Linked DNA regions of Homo sapiens: region 1 is linked to region 2. Evidence: promoter capture Hi-C in 16 types of primary human blood cells and fetal thymus (Javierre and others, 2016). All regions are on one chromosome and are shown on one strand. The core of a region is centred on a gene start or on the middle of the fragment in contact, and the rest is flanking DNA. Distances in the headings are between cores, read along the strand shown. Region 1 overlaps GLI3 (GLI family zinc finger 3). Region 2 holds the start of GLI3 (GLI family zinc finger 3).

Region 1 (2,700 bases), core at 201-2,700, 260 kb before region 2:
CAGCACCAGCTTCTGGAAGGTTTCATTCATGGTCATGATAGTGAGAGGTCAGGACTAGAGGGATGAGCTTGGGCCCTGTGAGAACTGACACTTACACAACCTTAGGGAGTCTCAAGTCTCCCTATAGGAAAGAGGGAGCCATTGCAGCTTTCTAGAGAGGGAGGTTCAACCGAATCAGAGCTCAGGAAACTTGTTTAGCGGTATCTTTGGGGGAAAAATGAGCTGTCTGATCTGGAGTAAGAAGTCCTGTCAGAGCTACGGTCAGTCTAGCAGCCCTAAATGAGCAGGACAGCCAGAGGAACAGAGAAGTGCCAGCAATTACTCCCTTCCCATTACAGTCCATTATTTTCTTGGCCACACTTAGAACAGCAAAGGGCTTGGCACATAAATAGCTTTAAGTATTTGTTCAATGAATAAATGAAGTTGCAAATAAGAGAGGAAATAAATGAAGGCAAATCACTTGATTCATCTAGGATTGTGAAATTGCACAAATCTGGATTTCCTGGACAAACTTAGTTTTGATGCGTCTGAAAATGTCCATCAGTCACACACAGGGCCAAAGTCTTGCATATAGAAGAGAGAAGTATAATTTGTTTGTAAATATGTCTGTGGGTAGAATTTTAATTATGTATTTATGATAAAAGTTAGTAATTTAAGTAAATTGCTCAAGTGTGGTCAATGACATTACTACCCAAGATATCCTTATCTTTTAATCTTATAACAAACACTCAACTCTCACACAACATTGCACTTTTTACCTTGGAGAAGAACACAAGCTCAACTACACCACAATTAAAGCAAACAGACATGTACAAATATTTTAGGTCCATAAAAAGACAAAAAAGCTTGGTAATTGTCTTTATATGTGTGCATTCTGATCCTAACATACCCTCTGTCCAAACTTCTCCATGATAATAGGAGACAGCATTGGCCTAACATCTATAGGAATGAATGCCCCCTAAATTTCTAGTCAAAATTACACTTAAATCTATGAAATATATGAAATACATTCTGTTAAGTCAAAACCCCTTAAAATTTTAAATTGAAATATAATTCACATGCCATAAAAATAATCCCTTTAAATTGCACAATTCAGTGGCATTAGTACATTCTAGACATTGTGTAATCATCACCATTACCTAATTCCAGAATATCTTCACCACCCCAACAAAAAAACCTTGTATCCATTAGCAGTCATCACTATTCCCTCTCCCCTCTGCTTTTGGCAACCACTGATCTACTTTCTATCTCTATGTATCTATCTATTCTAGACTCCCTAAAATTTTGTACAAAACAAGTGTAATAGATTATATTCCAGCTACTGCATACTGTAAAAGCATTTTTACATTAAAAATGGAGATGTGGCATCTTTAAAATGTCTTCAAACAGTTAGAAAATGAGATTCCGAATAACTCCAGTTTCCATGACCTTTTCACACAGAAAGTTGGTATATATATGAACTTACATGTGTGAGTTTATGAGTGAGTGTGCTTTTTACAGAGTGCAGTTAATCCCTTTAGAGATGTTTTTGCTCTGTCAGTTTCAGCTGAAGAAAACATGGTGAGAACCATCTTTGCCACCTTAAAGCCAAAAGTCCACTGAGCAGAATGGCTCACTTTGTTTCTATCAAGATTCTCTCTGCCCAGCTCTCTGTCTGAAAGATCATGAATGTGTTTGACCTGCACTGGTGAGATGAAATGACAGCCACTCCAGGGTCTCATGTGTGCACGATGTTCCTTCTCTAACACATTTCAAGCAAACTGATGACACGCTGTGGTGCTGAACTATGTCTCATGTTAACAAATTCTGGTTAGCTATCCTATTTCCACTCAAAATGTGGGGAGTCCTTTTGTTAATCTCTCAATACATTCAAGAGAAGATTTCACAGACAAGCCAGAATTTGAGCTAGACCTCCAAGGCCAAATTGGAAGTCTGTAGGAAGATGTTCACTAAAATGTAAGCAATGAATTTGGAATAATTTTTATTCTTATGCCTCTCTACAATTTAGGGGGGATCGCTACCTAAAAATAACAGTAACACAACAGGAATCACCCTGAAGCTTTACTCAATATGTTTTCTTAAGTAACTGCCTAGAAAGTATTCTGGGTTTCTGAGACCATTTTCCAAGATCCTTTGGAATTTAGAATGTCTGAAAATTGCATTTAGCCAAGGCTGGTTGCTCTGTAAAAATCTTTTTTGATATAATACCATTTGAAGATACCACTTGGAGGAAGCAAATAAAAGTGGATGACTTAGCAGGAAGCTGTCAGCTGTCAACATGCTACTTCTTAATATATCCTTGGGGCTTATGGGGTCATCCTTTGCATGGATTCCTGCTATTTTGGGCAGCGTGACTGGCTCAGATTCCAAGTCAAATGCTCCCACTGTTTGACCAGTAGGTGGCAGTTCAAAACAACATGAAACTAGTAAGTTCGCAGGGGTTTTAAGAAGTTTCCTCCTCATCTCTTATTATTCTCCAAATAAGATCCAGTTTCCAGTCCCACCTAGGAAGCTCAAGCCTTCACCTGCAGGGGCAGAGCCCCTCATGCTGGGAATGGCCAAGGGGAAAACAAAACAGAACACACTGCGCCTTCCCATGTGCCTTCCCCGGGATAGTTCTTTGTTTCCTTATGCAAGCTCCATGCCCACTGAGGATGCTTACCTCATTGGAATGCGTTCTGTTTTGGTGTTTGGCGCGAT
Region 2 (2,700 bases), core at 134-2,633:
CAGCTGGCAAAGAGCTGGGAGAAAATGTTTTACATAAATATATGTACATATAAACTGGCAGAGGGCCATGAGCACTGTACCCAAGGCCAGAATCTACCCGGCAGTCTGCACTGGGGAGATGAGAAGTTGGGGCAGGATGACCAGCGGCGGAGGGAGCCTCCTTAATCCTCTTTCCACGCGGGGTCAGGCAGGGAAGCCTGGGGTGCAGCGCCTCTCGGGGGACGGCATCTTACAGAAGGAGGTGCAATGGGGGACAGGAGCACAAAGTTCAGGAAAGGATAAAAGGCCGGGTGCGGGGTGGAGCGTCCGCTTCGGACAATCTGCTTAAAAGTCGCTTCACAAACTCTGCAAGTTTGGGATCAATATTTACACCCTCTCTGCCTTCTCCCGCCCGTTTTCCCGCTGCTACTCAAGAAAGTAACTGTCCCCTGCTGCTCTGTGTAAACGCGGCACCTTAAATGATTATTGCATGGACCACGGTTACTTTGTGTGTCTGTGCGCGCTGCCCCTGGAAAGGAAAAGAAATAAGAGAATCCCAAATCATATACAGATGGTACAACTTTCACTTTTCCTCTATGACGACGAAGGCGCGCCTCTCTCCATCCGCTCACACCACACCCCCGCCCTCCGAAGCATAGCCCGGGCTGGAGAAGCCCCAGCGGCGGCGGCCCCCGCGGCGGAGGTCCCCGCGCGCACCCACCATGCCTCCCGCCTCCTTCCGCCCATCCCGAGCGCCGTGCGCGCCCGAAGCCCGAGCCGTAGAGCGCCACCGCGCAAAGGAAGGAGCCAGGCGCGTGCGGGGCTCGCGGAGTTCTTCTGAACCCTTTGGATGGGGGCGGAGGCGAGGGGCGCCGCCACCACTGCGGCAAACTTCGTCCCCCCTCCGGGAGGTGAAATTCTCCAATCCGTCTCCGGCCGGTCCGCGGGTCGGACTCTTCGGAAAGGACCTTCCAGGAGGAGGGAGCGAATGCAAGCCTTGCTCGGACGCCTCACCGGCGGCTCTCTAAATCTGGGCGCCTTTTGACAGCCATTTTCACTCCATCCCGTCCCCACGCTGGGGACCACCTCTGGCCCCGGAGGCGCGGGCGCGGCCGCAGGAGCGGGCTGCGGGGTCCGCGAAACAAAGAACTTCGAGCGGGACGTACCTGCGGCGGCAGCGGCTGTCAAGTCCCCGAACTTCCCATAGACCCGCGGACGGGGCGCAGGCTGGCGGCTCCCCGCTCCGCGCGGCCGCGGGCGGCTACGGCTACCGCGAGCGGCCGGGCTGGGCGCGGGGTGCGCCCGCCGCGGGCATGGTGCGGCGCGGGCGGCCGCGGGGCGCGCGGGGAAGGCGGGAGAGCGGCGCGGGTGAGTGGGAGCGGCGGGTGTGCGCGAGTGCGAGTGTGCGAGCGCGCCGGTGGCGCTGCCCCTGCCCGCTCCCTCCCGCTCGTGCAGCTCCGGCATCAGTTTCGGGGATCGTGTAATCCGATCCCTTCTGACTCACAAGCCCTGAGTGACAGTTCTGATTTGGTTCAACCGCGGGAGGGAGGGGAAAGAGAAAGAAAGAAACCCCCAGCCGTACGCCTCTCCTGGCATCCAATCGACTTTCTGGAAAAAGGTCCCATCCCGGCCTGGTGCCCCGTGCTGGGTGGAGAAGCCCCCCGCCCCGACCTGGCACCGCCTGCACTACTCACGGGGTGGAAAAGTTGTCCCTCGGCTCCGCGCTCCCCTCCCGCGCGCTCCCTCCTTCCCTTCTCTCCTCCTCTTCCTCCTCCTCCCCGCGCTCCTCCTCCCCCAAGTTTTAACAGATGTTGCCGGACTCTCCTCGCTCCCTCGCACTCTCTCTTCCTCCGCCCCGGCCCCCGCCCAGTCCCTTTTCTTTCAGCCACTCTCGGGCTCGGAGGGGACGCGCTGAGCAGCAGGACGCCTGCCGCCGCAGGGGGCGAAGTTGGGAAAACTTGGAGTGCTGCTCGCCTTACTTTTGCTTTCTCGCTCCTTCCAGGCCGCGCCGGGAGCCCCCGCTTCTCCCGCCCGCCGGGTCCCCAAGCCCGGAGTGGGTCCCAGCTGCGAGGCGGGCGGCGGCGGCTGGGAGGCGGCGCGTCGCGGGCCGGGGTCGGGGGCTGGGGGGGAGCCCGGGCGCCGCGAGCCACGCGCGCGCTCCCTCCCCGCCCTCCGCCGCCGCCGCCGCCGCCGCCGCCGCCTCCTCCTCCTCCTCCTCCTTCTCCTCCTCCTCCTCCTCCTCCGCCCCTCCCCGGTCTTCACACAGACACATTCATGCCTGCTCCTCCTCTTCCCCCTACTTGACCCCGCGCCCTCCCGGCGCGCCGAAGCCCCACCCACCCGGCGAGGGGAAGGGGGCCCGGGCGTGATGTCACCCGCGCCCTCTCTCTTCTCTCTCCACACCGCCAGGACACCCCCCAAATGCGCGCCCTGGCACTCGTGCTGCGTCCTGTCTGCTCCCATCTTCTCCCACCCAGCCTCTCTTTCTCACTCTTGCTCAAGGGCTGGACTCCCCTTTATTCTTTTAAGGCTTCTCTGATTACCACCGCCCCCCATCCTTGGCTCCCCATCTCCTTGTTTTACATTTTCCCAAAGCCATCCCCGAAACTCCCTCTCGCGGGATGATGCCTTTGGAAGTTCAGGGTTTTTCTCTCCACCGGACTCGTCTGCCCTCGGGGCCAAATCCGCGAAGCGAGGAGGAGCTCCCACCACACAGCCTGC

Evidence for each region. The method cuts DNA at HindIII sites, captures the fragments that hold promoters and counts their contacts. A CHiCAGO score of 5 or more calls a contact.
Region 1: a fragment that was not itself captured here is called in contact with the fragment with the promoter of GLI3 in region 2 in 1 of 17 cell types (endothelial precursors); the score reaches 8.4 in endothelial precursors.

What each region holds. Positions count from the first base shown.
Region 1 is chr7:41,974,896-41,977,595 of GRCh38, forward strand. It overlaps GLI3 (GLI family zinc finger 3), which reads right to left. Exons shown (of 15, transcript NM_000168.6): 12 at 2,663-2,700. Among named protein-coding and RNA genes, the nearest start is that of GLI3, 260 kb to the right of the region's middle. The HindIII fragment of the contact is 1,214 bases long and covers 844-2,057 here.
Region 2 is chr7:42,235,826-42,238,525 of GRCh38, forward strand. GLI3 (GLI family zinc finger 3) reads right to left here and starts at 1,384. Exons shown (of 15, transcript NM_000168.6): 1 at 1,146-1,384. RefSeq lists an enhancer at 1,128-2,109. The HindIII fragment of the contact is 5,518 bases long and covers 1-2,700 here.